Linked DNA regions of Homo sapiens: region 1 is linked to region 2. The links are contacts of gene promoters, found by promoter capture Hi-C in blood cells and fetal thymus (Javierre and others, 2016). All regions are on one chromosome and are shown on one strand. The core of a region is centred on a gene start or on the middle of the fragment in contact, and the rest is flanking DNA. Distances in the headings are between cores, read along the strand shown.

Region 1 (6,904 bases), core at 4,089-6,588, 1.6 Mb after region 2:
TGAGTGGCCGAATCGTTGCAAGGACTCTCCCGGAGGGTTGAACTTTGGGTTCACTTCAGCAAAGTCTGTTGGCACAAGGCCCCAATGTCACCGGCGAAATATCGGTGAAAACTTCCATGTTTGGGGGAAGACCCCTGCCCGACCTAGTGACCTAGCGGGCCAACCGCCTCCCCAGCTCTCAGAGAGACTTCGGGGAGACGCCAAGCGCTCCAGGCCGGCCCTGTCCTCTGCGCTCCACTGCTGCCGCACGGACTGCCAGACTCCCGGCATGCTCTGCGGACTGAAGTCCGCGGCACGAGAAATCAAAGCCCCGGGGCCTGGGTCCCACGCGGGGTCCCTTACCCAGGGTGCCCCGGGCGCTCATTTGCATGTCCCACCCAACAGGTAAACCTGACAGATCGGTCGCGGCCAGATACGGCCTGGCGGTCAGAGCACCAATCTTACGAGCCTTGTGATGAGTTCCGTTACATGAAATTCTCCTAAAGGCTCCAAGATGGACAGGAAAGCGCTCGATTAGGTTACCGTAAGGAAAACAAATGAGAAACTCCCGTGCCTTATAAGACCTGGGGACGGACTTATTTGCGTGCTCGCTTCGGCAGCACATATACTAAAATTGGAACGATACAGAGAAGATTAGCATGGCCCCTGCGCAAGGATGACACGCAAATTCGTGAAGCGTTCCATATTTTGCGCGGTTCAACGAAGGTCGTTGGGCAAGATACGGTGGTGTTCCTAGAGGTTGTTCAAGATCTCTCGGGGCCTGCATTTTCCTGCTCGCGAGCTTGGCCCAGTAGACACCTACGATGCTGTCCGGGCCTCCCACCAGTCCTGTCGCACAGTGGGCACACTTCCTCGACAGCCTCCATCTTCGAGGCGCCTAGTTACGTTACTATTAAGTTACCTAGGTGATCCTCGTATCTGCGTCCAAATACTTGTTTTCATTGATTAAAATATGCTTTCAGGCTGGGCAATGAACATTCCTCCTAATCAAATTTCCCATCACAGAATCTGTCCGATTTATGTAAATCGGCCCTTTCTAAGTACTTCTTAGAGGATACATGAAAACAGAAGACTCGTGAAAACAGATCCAGATGGGCTTGCTACTTGTGGCCAGTATTCACATGGGTCCTGGAGCTCTTGAATCTATAGGCAAAGGCCAACATTGATTTCCAATAATACCAGCCCTTAGTAACATTCCTTTCCTTTGTGCAGCTCGCAGTCTAAGAGAAAGGGTGTAAGCACTCAGGTCTAAGATGATGGAGAATGGCACAAAGTAGGCGCAAGAAATGAGCGCTAATGTTTCCTTCCTTTAGTAGAGATTTATTAGGTTAGGAAAGATTTAGTAAGGATTTATTGAACAATTCATATGCCAGTTGGTCTTCTACTGAACAAAAGCCAAACAAGCTGGGGCTCTGGAGTTTGTGTTGTTTGGTGAGACAAGACCGTAAGTCTATTTCAGAATGAAAAGTTCAATGAAGAAGGCACAAGGTGACCTTTTTCCATTTCCAAAATGCGTATTAACGATCTATTCGCACACAACATTCCTCGGGTGACTCTGCTTCGTTCCCACTTCATAGATTTCACAAATTTTTTGTAATGAAAACCACTGTTTCGTCATTGGGTGCCACACGTTTTCGCTTAGATTCACACTGTTTCCTTAGTACTAATTAGCAGATACTGAAATGATCTTGACAGACTGCGCAAAATATGGAACGCTTCACGAATTTGCGTGTCATCCTTGCGCAGGGGCCATGCTAATCTTCTCTGTATCGTTCCAATTTTAGTATATGTGCTGCCGAAGCGAGCACGTTGAGAAGAAGTCACCCACAGGCCTTATAAGGCACGGGAGTCTTTCACCTATTCTACTTACGGTGACCGAACCGCGCCCTTTCCTGTCCATCTTGGAGCCTTTGGGAGAATTTCATGCAACGGAACTCATCACAAGGCTCGTATGTTTGGTGCTCTGACCGCCAGGTCGTACCTGGCCGCGATGACCTGTCAGGTTTACCTGTTGGGTGGGACATGCAAATGAGCGCCCGGGGCACCCTGGGTAAAGGGCCCCGCGTAGGACCCAGGCCGGGGGCTTTGAGTTCTCGTGCCGCGGAGCTCAGCCCGCGGAGCATGCCGGGAGCTGCCAATGCTGCGGCCGCCTCTGAGCGCGCGGCGGGGTCCAGCGCCCAGGCGAGCTGGAGACGCCCCGATAACGAGGCTGCTGCGGCACCGAGAGGGCCGGCCCGGGGTCGGCGCGCACCTTTAGAACAGGTCGTTTCACCATTAACTTCCTCTGATGAGTAATTTTTTTTAAAAAAGTAATTAACCGACCATTATCACACCTAGAAAAGTTAAGGTAATTCCTTCATGGCACCTAATATTCAGTCTACTTTCAAATTTCCTTATTTCAGAAATTCCTTATTACAGTCGAATTGTCATAGAGATCCAAACAAGGTCCCAGGTTGTATTCGGTTGCTACGACCCTGGGTGTCTATTGTCCTCTAATTGCCCTCGCCTCGTTTTTCTTCACGTCATTCGTATACTGAGGGATATTTGCCCTGTGGATTGTCGCAGATCTTGGGATTTGGCCCATTACTTACTGATGGTGTCGTTTAACTTGTTTCTCTAGCCTCCATGTTTCTTGAAAATTTATGGTTAGGGGTAATGGACTCATTAGATTCTGGTTGTGTTGTGTTTTGTTTTGACGCCCGCACGGCTTCAAACACAGTGGTAGGGTGTGTGCTTACTGCACCTCAGCAAGAGTAGTGTATCCGCTGGCTGTCCCCGTGTGAGTGATGCCTACCCCTGACCTGTGGGTGCAGGTGCGGTCAGCCGTCTGACCCCTCACACTATAAAGTCTCCCAGAAATCTTTCCTTTAATGATTTTAGGATACACCCATGAACAAGCCAAGTAGAAGGTCTGGTCTGGTGGTTTGCTTGCTTTTTGTTTTGTTTTGAGGACACGTTGTAATTGTACATATTTATGGGGTGCAATTTGATGTTTCGATACATATCTATGTTGTATAACGATCCAATCAAGGTAGTGTATCCACCACCTCATGCATTTATCCTTTCTCTGTGGTGAGAACATTCAGTAGCCTCTCTTCTATTTTGTGGTATACAAAATTTTACTGTTAACCATTTTCACCCTACCGTGCAATAGAGCATCAGAATTTTTTCCCTCTTCTTTAATTGTATCTTTGTACCCATTAACCAATGTTTATAAACAAACATTGTGAGTTTGTGAGTTATAAGTTTACTTGTGAGTTATAAGGATTTAACCCCTGGCCTGTGGTGGCCAAGTTCTGTATCCCATGGAAGAGAATTGAGAGAATAATAGGATCAGGGAAAGAAATTAGGAAAGAGTGTTGATGTCATTTGAGTCTCTGGATCATTTGATCCCATGAGCAGGTGCTTTCCATAGTTGTTTGGTTACTCGTTCTAACAAATTACTTTTATTAGGCTAGATTAAAGTTGTTTTTGCCAAATGCAAATATGAGATCTTAAACATTTGTGAGTTTAGCATGTCTTCACACTGCACACTTGCAACATTAAAACATTATTGGCTTCTGCTAAACTCAAAAATATTTAAGATGCCGTATTTGCATTTTGACAAAAACAACTCTAGTGTTAGTACCCGTGGTTAAGCATATATGAATTTCCAATCACGTTTTTTTTTAGGAGGAAATAGTGTTCTTTATCACATCCTTATAGGAAAGTTATGAGGTAGGTGGCTATTTAATTAAATAATATTTTGTATGATTTGACTCATTTGAGAACGATGAGTCTTTTTTTTTTTGAGACGGAGTCTCACTCTGGCAACCAGGCTGGAGTGCAGTGGTGCGATCTCGGCTCACTTCAACCTCCGCCTCCCAGGTTCAAGTGATTCTCCTGCCTCGGCTTCCCAATTAGCTGGGACTACAGGCGTGCGCCACCACGCCCCGGCTATGTATTTTTAGTAGAGACGGGGTTTCGCCGTGTTGGCCAGGCTGGTCTCAAACTCCTGACCTCAGGTGATCCACCTGCCTCAGCTTCCCAAAGTGCTGGGATTACAGGCGTGAGCCACCGCACTCCCCCCACCACCCTCACGATGAGTCTTACTTAATAGGAATTATTAACAAATTGGCTTTAAGAAATTTATTTAAAGGATTTTTTCAGTGAGACAAATGTTTTATTTTTATATTCTGGAACATTTGAACTCATCAATAAACATAATAATTTTAACGATTTACATTAACTGAAATAAAACAACTGCCTTTCCTTTGTGACATGTAAAACTATGGTGCATTTCGCAATCAATGACATTTTAGATCCAAAGAGATGTATCTTATTTTTTGGAAGAGGAAACTGAGGCTGATATAAGTGTAGTGACCTCCCTGGGCAAGATTGGCCACTGGTCCTACCATCTTCTGATGCCGAATTCATTGCTGTTTTCACTGCACCATTTGTAGTATTACTAGGTCATACTATTTGCAGTAAACTGCAAAGAAAAAGATAAAGACCTCAAGCCTGCCATTTTACAATTATATTTCTGAGTTCTGCTCATTTGACTGCAGAACAAGACAGCACACACTAAGTGGAAAGCTGACCTTGTTCTTTTTACTCACAGAAAGGGCACATTTGGTGATGTGACACAATTGAAAGTCAAAAACCACAGGTCATTTCCTCTTCAGGAATTTTGCTCTAATTAAAAAGAAGAAGAAACTCATCCTAAATCCTCACATCCTCTTTAGCAAGGAACAGATGAGTCATTTAGAACCACAGCATCAATGACCGGCGTCACCTGGTGTGAAATTGGTGAACTCCAGGTGGGAAACAAAGGTTATCAACCTGGGCTGCAGGTCGCAATCACAAGAGCTTTTAAAAATACGAGTGACTGAGTCCTCCCCTGGAGATTCTGACTTTGTTATTGTTGTTTTTAGACAGGGTCTTCACTATGTTGCTTAGGCTGATCTGGAACTCCTGGGTTCAAATGATCCTTCTGCCTCAGCCTCTCAAGTAGCTGGGTTTACAGGTGCACACCACTGTGCCTGGAAAGAGATTCTGATTTAATTGTCCTGAGTACGGCCGGGGTGTCTGTGAGATATCTTTCTGCATTCTCCCTCTGCCTCTCTCTTTCTCTCCACGCCTCCTGTGAGCTCTCAGCCTTTATAAGATCTTCTTTGGGCTTGTCAGCACCCTTCTTTCTTTCCTCTCTTCTCCTTTCTTTTCCATCAGACACACTACATCAGGTGAAGCTTGTTTCGAGTTCCCCACCAGGCCCCTTTCTTTGCTACTGGCTTCCTTTTATGGCCATACTTCCTTCCCTCATAATGCACCCACTGGCTCCCCAAGACTCCTCCTAAATGTCCCACTTACAATTGTAAGGATATTTAAAGACTCATCAGTCTGGGTTTTATTTCTTCAGGGCTCTGCTAACTAACTCCACAAACTAAAATATACTAGAACAGTATTTCTCAAGCTTTCTTAGTGATAGATTCCCAGACCCAACTTCTTACAGTTTCCAGAGGATTGACTTATGCCACTGTATTCAGAGAATCACTGGCATATCACCCATATGACCTATCTGTGTTTTAATGGCTACTTTTAATGAAATGAGAAAGTCACTCTGGTAAAGCTGATGTGAGATATTTTGGTGCTTGGAGCCCTTTCATGGCAACCAGTTCCCTAATGTGTAGAAGATGTGTAAACCTCATGTTCTGTTTTATGGTAGGGAAAAAACCATGTCAGAGAGGAACTTCTTAATTTCTTGTAATTACTACAAATTTAACTCTATATACACTCATCCACTTTTCTGAAATGTTATTTCAGAAAAATGTTATTTACAAATAGATGTTATTTGTATGGAAAAAACATTTGTGCCCAGGTAGAAAACTGGATTGTCTGGAAAATACAAAATCTGATTCACATTCTATGGAAGCTATTTTACAACTCTGTAGATTGTAGATAACTGATGGCAGTTAATAATTTCTGTTTATAGCTGTGCAAATTCTCTCCTGACTGGAAGTTCAATTGACTTCTCTTCACCACTATGGAAGAACCCAGTTTTGCTTCCATTTGCACATTCAACCTTCCTTTATTCCACATAATTTTTTTATTTCTCTTTTGAACTAGTTGTAACGTCTCCTGCGTTTCCGCATTGATTCGTGATAAAATCTTTAACGTGTGTTCATTTTTTATGTGTATGAGAGGCATGATTTTATCCACTTTTTTAAAAAAATTGTCTTTTTAAAAGTTTGGAGGTCTTCCAATGAGTTGTCTATTGGATTCATCTTAACAAAACCAGATATACGTTTCACCAGACTAGCTTGTGGGCTGCTTAAAGCCCAAACACATTTTTTTCTTGGCTGCCAAATGACAATAGAACTTTGGTGACTCTGTTTTTCTAATTTTAATATTTTTCTCTATTAAGTTTGTGATTTGTCTCTGTTTTGCTTCCAGCCAGCCAGTGTGTCTGCTGTACTGGGTGGAAACAATGATTGGGAATTTGGTGTCATGGTCTAATCATTTGGTAAGCTCTGTGAATGGATTAATATTTATAGAGATCTAGTCTCTGTTGGGTGACAGACTATAGAGAAACTAGTTTATTAGTCTTGTTTATACACCTTTTGTCCATTTTGGGCTCAAATCAATTAAGAATATTGTGCCCATCAAGAAGGGGAACAGCTCTTTGATATCTGAATTAGTAATTTTTTTTGTGCTTCCGTGTTTATTCTTGACCCGTGAGTGAAATTTTAGAATTAAAGCTATAAACTCTATGTCTGCATGTTTGTAATTCAGAAAGGTCTTTATCTCTCATTATATGAATGTGTAATGCTTTCCTAAATCCAGAGGGTGTTAACAACTTAGATTATGAAATCTCCTACATTAAAGGAGTCCGGTTCTGATTGATTTAAGACAAAGGTCCCCAGCC
Region 2 (6,785 bases), core at 2,095-4,594:
CATTGAAATCACTTATGTTCTCAAATTATATTTTAAAGTAGCAGGTTCTATATCTTTCTTTAAAGAAAATTTCTTTAAAACTGTATTTAAAATTTAAAAATTATTTTAAATTAAATTGAATTCTAATTTGATTTTGTGAATTTTCTTTAAAATTTATTTCTACGCATTTTATCATTTCTGTTACTCATGTTGGTTGTGGTAAAAACCTTTTAGAGTAGATTATAGGAATTCTTCTGCCAAAGCAGTTTATGTTGTTTCTTCCATGTAAAATTGATGACCCTTGGTCCCAGGAGTGTTTTTGTTTTGTTTTCTGCTGTATGTGGATTGAATAGGAAGAGGAAAGCAGGAAAGAGAGGTTACATTAGCTATGACTAAAATTTTCTAAGAATTCAGTTCTCAGCTAGTTCACATTACTGAGGGATTATCAGAGACTGAATAAAATTCTTAATTTTATTCTTCATTTTTTGCAGCATGTATTAAGTGGAATACTTATATCAATTTCACTCAATTTAAAATGTTTATAAGCTCTCAGAATGCCTGGTCTGATGGCCAGGTTTGTTAGATTTAAGTACGTCCTGCAATGAATATTTTCTTTCAAAAGTCCTTAAATTGTGGCCGGGCGCGGTGGCTCACGCCTGTAATCCCAGCACTTTGGGAGGCTGAGGCAGGAGAATGGCATAAACTCAGGAGGCGGAGCTTGCAGTGAGCAGAGATCACGCCACTGCATTCCAGCCTGGGCGACAGAGAGAGACTCCGTCTCAAAGAAGTCCTTAAGTTGTATGTACTCAGGCTCTTTGATTTAGTCAGTGGGTATTTATTGAAGATCTTTTTTGTTCACAAAATGCTGTAACATTACTTGAATATTGTTTGTATTCAAAATCACCTATACTCACTCTGGGTGAAAAAAAAAGAACAACATTTTAATTAGTACAGATAACCAGATAGTCCATTCAGTGAACACCAACCCTAGACAATTAATACAATTAAGCCTGGCTAATCTTATGGAAAAAAATGTGAATGACTTTACAGGGCTCTCCACCACTGATGAGAACTGAATCTCATTATTCCAAGTGATGGCCAGGCTGCGGGGTGATAATGACTTTGACAACATTTTAGCGGAAGAAATTGAAGAATTAATTAAGGGTTGTAGAGAAGAACTGACCAAGGAGAACTCAGGGGACAAACTGAAAAAAAAAAAAAAAAACACAAAACCTTGCTCATAGAGTTGTATAAAGAAAATCATATATATATATATAATCTTTTGGGTGGCTTTTCCAGGGCATTTTTAACTTTTGTATACAGGTCAACTTGAGAATTTAATTCCTGTGAAGGATAAGAATGGTGGGAAGGTGCCAAGAATTATGAAAGACATAGGAAAATATATAACATAGTTTCTGCCTTCAAGAAACTTCAAGGAGCAATATATTTAACGGGGTCATATTAGATATGTAAACATAAAATAATACACTATATCATGAATGACAAAATGTGTGGTCAAATCATTATATGTAATTGTAGAAAGAACTGTTGAATGAATGAATGGACATAGACTATCCAAACATTAGAAATTTATACGCTCATTAAACCTGATTTTGTATCTAGAATGTATTCAATTTCTAGCAATCTTCCTTAAAGAACAAAATTGCAAAATTAAAAAAAAAGTTTATTATCTTAAAAATTCAACTGGTGATAAAGTGAAAGGTAAAAGTTCTCCATCTCTTCCTACTCTTATTTACCAGCCCGCTCCCAGAGATGTTTACAGCTTAGGTATCCATCCCAAAACTTTGTATACCATATACACACACATACTTTCAAACAAGGATACTACAGTCCTTCTTAAACTTTTTCAGTATTTCATTTCAGTACCCGCTGATCTACTTCATTACTTTTAGTGCCCGCAGCGTCAGTATATCAGATGCTAAAGTATCATAACTTACATGTATTTAACCCCTTCCTTATTTGTAGACACAGATTATTTTCTATCTTCCACTGTTAAAAACAGTACATCAGTTAATAGCTTTACACACCCCCTGTGTCAGATTACCTGTAGCATAGGTTCTCAGAAATCTAGTAAACCTTTCAAACTGTATTTTTTTTTTTTTTTTTTTTTTTTTTTTGAGACAGAGCCTCGCTCTGTCGCCCAGGCTGGAGTGCAGTGGCGCAATTTCTGCTCACTGCAAGCTCCGTCTCCCGGGTTCACACCATTCTCCTGCCTCAGCCTCCCGAGTAGCTGGGACTACAGGCGCCTGCCATCACGCCCAGCTAATTTTTTGTACATTTAGTAGAGACGGGGTTTCACCATGTTAGCCAGGATGGTCTCGATCTCCTGACCTCGTGATCCACCCGCCTCGGCCTACCAAAGTGCTGGGATTACAGGCGTGAGCCACCGCGCCCGGCCCTCAAACTGTATTTTTGACAAAGGCTAAAGGTATGCTGTCATGGTTTGGTTTGTACTGATCCGTTTAGGTAATTCAATGTTATTAGATGTGAGGATGATCTGGTGGCAACATCAATCACAGCCATAAAGGTCAGAGTTATTTAGCGCCCCTCACCCCCTAGCATTTCCAGTCCTTCCTTTAGTTTCTGGAAGCTCCCAGATGTCTCTTCAGAAGCTTAAGACGTTTTGGATCAAAGACATACTGTGGTCCTCGATAAAGGAAAAGATACTGTTGTTTCAATAATCTCACGGGACAATACTTAATAATCTCGTAAAGTGAGCCCTTATCTGAGGGGGGAAATAAAATTTATTGCCTTCTAACACCATCAAATAGTTTATTTGAGACCAGGAATTGGTCCGACCACTTATTTTCAACTTTTGGCTGAATACGGGTGAACTTGGCTTTTTGTTTTCCCTAAACCCAGGACAGAAATAAATTAAAAGCCCTGACTGTGCCGGGATAGGACTGAGAGGCCCAGGAAAGGCTGCACTAAGTACTTGGAGGGTTTGTTTTTTTCCTTCTTGCTGCTGCTGCTGTTTCCTCGAGGATGAAGGGAAAGATAAAACCCTCCTGCCTCCGTTCGTGCTTTCATTCGCCCCATTCCTCGAAGGTGACGAAACTTCAGCACATCTCTGTCCATTTTGGAAAAAAGAGGATCCCCTCAAGAGCAAATAGGCGGAAACAATGACCCCGCGCCCGGAGTTTTTCTGAGCTCCTAAATAGGGAGAGAGACCCGACAAAACAAACAAGCGAAGGCGACACAGCCAGGTTAGCACCGAGCAGCAGCGCAGGAGCGCCAGAAGGGCGGGAGCACACGGGCCCTTCCCCACAGCCAGCGCCTCCGCGGGTCCCACCCCTCGAGGGCGGGGCCGACCGCTCTTTCCGGGTTTGCGAGCGGAAGTGGACGAATTTGAATCCTGTGGGCCGTTGAATGTGGCTGCTCGCGGTCGGCGTGCCCCGACGTACAGCGGGCCGGGAAAAGTGGCACTGAGGCTCTGGAACTTCTGCCCAGCTCTCCTTGGTGAGTAAATGGGGAACGGGAAGACGCAGAACGTTCCAGAGAGAGAAGCAGGACCGTGGGGTGGGAGAGGGTGTCAGGAGGCCGGACGTCGCAGCCGGGGCCTCGCAGTGCTTTTGGGGACGTCTGGTGCTGGGGCCCGGCCTGGAGACTAAGGGAATTCGGGGCACTGGGGGCGTTTGCTGGACCAGCGCTCTCGACGGTTGCGCACGCCAGCCAGCTCTCAGTGTTGAGGATTCGGAGGCCCTGCCGGTCCCCCGCGAGTAAACCTTGTTTATACGCATCCTCCGTGGCTTTTTTTAAACCCGTAGTTTATTATTTCCACCAATTCGGCTCGAATGCTGAAATTTTAACAGTAGTTAAATCTCACTGTGAAGGCGTTGCCACGTTTAAACAAATCTCTTTTAATGAAAGATGGAAGGTTGGGGCGGGTTTAGAATGAAAAGATGCTCTACGTGGCTCCGCGTTCCTCCTGAGAGAGATACCCGGGCAACCTTGATTAACTCTGGACTGCAGGGAAGTGACAGTCTTTGAAATGCCTGAGTGGGATTTAAACTGAAATTCGAGTGTCCTTTGTATTTAAAACCCGGATATTTTTCTTTCACGGTTGACATTTTTCATGTACCGCAAAAATCCGAGACTCCTATTTAAACCGGCTGTGGTAACAGCGGTGGTGATTAACTAGGGTCTTAGTTTGCAAACAATAGGGATAAGGTTTAGTTCCACCGCCCTGCCTTTTCGCCTCCCTCATTCATTGGCCAACTGGGTTATTATGGAGTCTTTTTGGAAGTAATCCACTAATGCTTTGAGCATCTGTTTCTTTGGGTTTTATTGTTTTGGGCTTTTTTTTTTTTAATTTTTAATGATGAACTATCTGAAATATGGAACTCTGTCTAACCCAGTAGTAAAGTCATGCCTTCTGGAATGGTTTAAAAGTGTGCCATAAATGTAAACTATAAATGGGAACTTTAAATGTGTACAAGTTTTACATCTTTATTAAAAATCGTCAGTTTTGTGTAGCTTAATACGAAAAGATATTTTAAGTTCCTTTTAAGGTTTTAACACCAGGATATTGTACCATTTAAATGTATAAATATATTTTTAAAAGTAGGACTTCATAATAATCAGAATAAAAACATTCCTTCATCCAGTGCTGGCTATTCCAGCACCCCCATTCTTCCTGCTATTGAACTTTTAAGTGTTAGCCAGGAAGAATAGACTTAAATACTCGGTGTTTAGGATAGTTAAAATATGAGCATTTTTCATATAGTGTCTTTGTAACAGAGACATTGGCTATACTTCTCTAAGCCTTTCTGCTCATTTCATATGTGCTGTCAACAAATGGTAATTTTTAAAAATTGATCGCTATATCCTAATCTCTTTATTTTTTTCTACCTGAATTATTTTCATTGGATTTTTGCTCTTTCTTAAATCAGTGAGTTTCAGAATTTATTGTGTATACACTACCTTGAAGGATTTGTTCAACAATGCTGATTCCTGCACTTCAGATCTCAGATTCTGAATCAGTAGGTCTGGAGGATGGCATTGAACAGTCTGCATATTTAACTGAAAGGTTAGAAAATACTGTGAGTTTTCAAAACACTGATTTGATCTTTCCTAGAAAGGCATTATAATGTGTTGATTAAAGACATGGAACTGGGGCCAGATTGCCTTGGTTTGAAGCCCATCTCCACCACTTGATAGCTAGGTGACCCTGGGCAAGCTGTTTAACCTCTCTGCTTCATTTCCCTCTACCGTATGATGAGGTTACCTACTTTGTAGGATTATTGTGAGGATTGAATGAGTTAATATATACAAAGACCTTAAAATAGTGTGTGCCACATAGCAAATGATACATAAGTCTCCAATTACATTGAGTTACTAAACTGTAAAAACCGCATCACATACATTCTCTCATTAATCTTTACAATATCGCTGAGGTAGTTACTATCTTCAAATAAGAAAACAGGCTAAGAGGGGCTCGGTAATTTGTTCTCACACAACTAGTAACACGTTGGAACTGAAGTCGGAAATTAGATTTAACTCAAAAGTTTATGCTTTTTTAAAAAAGTAATATTTCTTGCCTCTCTTCAGTCTCCCTCCAGATGTTGCTCCATAAGTATCTCTGATGGCTTCTCATTGTCTACCATATATAATTCAAATTTCTTAGCTTTGCTTTTTATTTACAGAGCCCTTCAGAGTCTGGTACCAACTTCTCTTCCCAAGGACCATCTTCATAATATTACACCAGTCTCTTCCAACCTGCTGATGTTCTATCAATACTACTAGAATTCTCCAAATCTATCTCTTATTACATTTTATGCATATTTAGCCATTGGCCTTTTTATTTCCCCTTAAGATTTTACTCAAATGGGTTTAAAGACTTCTCCAGGCTGTGCTTTTTGCTTATAAATATATAGTGCGAGACTGCCCTTGTCCTTTTAATTTTTATGTCTGCAGTGCACAGTGCAGAACAGTGAGTGTCATGATACTCTGAAACTGTGTATGTTCAGTGAGTACTTATTATTTTAACAATTTAACACATTTTGTCTTGGGTTAATGACTCAAAAAGTTGTTGCTTTTTTTTTTTTAAGGCTTGGCTTTTTTCTGAGATGATAGCATATAATTCTGTGTAGTTTAGTAGAGATTTTAGTGATAGCATATGGTTTATAAACTATGGAAAAATAAGTATTGAAATTATAGGCTCAGAGGACATTTCAAGTGGCAAAAAATCAGGAGCAATGTTTGTTAATATTCATGAATTTAAAATGCTTTATACATATTTTCTCACTTAATCCTCACAACCATTTTATTATCTCTATATTAAGATGAAGAAACTGAGGCACCAAAAGATTTAGTAGCTTTTAAAATGTATTTTTAAAATATTTAATTTCCTCTTGTGTGGGCGGCAAGCCACCCAGGTGCCGAGGCAAGAGACTGGGGGCACGAGCTGTTCCAGTATAATAAAATAATAAAATAAGAATAGTTATACTAGATATAGATCTTAGATATGATTATATATGAATATCATTAATCATTAGTTTGTAGCAATTACTCTTTATTCCAATATTATAATAATCCTCGCTCTACAATCATAACCTAGGAAAAACCAGGCCATACAGAGATAGGAGCTGAGGGGACATAGTGAGAAGTGACCAGAAGACAAGTGTGAGCCTTCTGTTATGCCCGGACAGGGCCACCAGAGGGCTCCTTGTTCTAGCGGTAACACCAGCGTCTGGGAAGACGCCCGTTGCCAAGAGGACCATGGTCTAGCGATAGCGTCAGTGTCAAGGAAAAACACCCGCTACTTAGCAGACCGGGAAAGGGAG

The links. Contacts are between HindIII fragments. The CHiCAGO score rates a contact against its expected background, and 5 or more counts as called.
Region 1: a fragment that was not itself captured here is called in contact with the fragment with the promoter of G2E3 in region 2 in 1 of 17 cell types (total CD8 T cells); the score reaches 8.5 in total CD8 T cells.

Annotation. Positions count from the first base shown.
Region 1 is chr14:32,201,462-32,208,365 of GRCh38, forward strand. RNU6-7 (RNA, U6 small nuclear 7) reads left to right here and starts at 584; the gene lies at 584-690. It overlaps RNU6-8 (RNA, U6 small nuclear 8), which reads right to left and starts at 1,808; the gene lies at 1,702-1,808. RefSeq lists enhancers at 136-195, 276-335, 1,433-1,978, 1,979-2,523, 4,839-4,998 and a silencer at 1,613-1,792. The HindIII fragment of the contact is 224 bases long and covers 5,227-5,450 here.
Region 2 is chr14:30,555,814-30,562,598 of GRCh38, forward strand. G2E3 (G2/M-phase specific E3 ubiquitin protein ligase) reads left to right here and starts at 3,345. Exons shown (of 15, transcript NM_017769.5): 1 at 3,345-3,459. It overlaps G2E3-AS1 (G2E3 antisense RNA 1), which reads right to left. Exons shown (of 4, transcript NR_151720.1): 3 at 4,924-5,022. RefSeq lists an enhancer at 3,011-3,200. The HindIII fragment of the contact is 9,808 bases long and covers 2,611-6,785 here.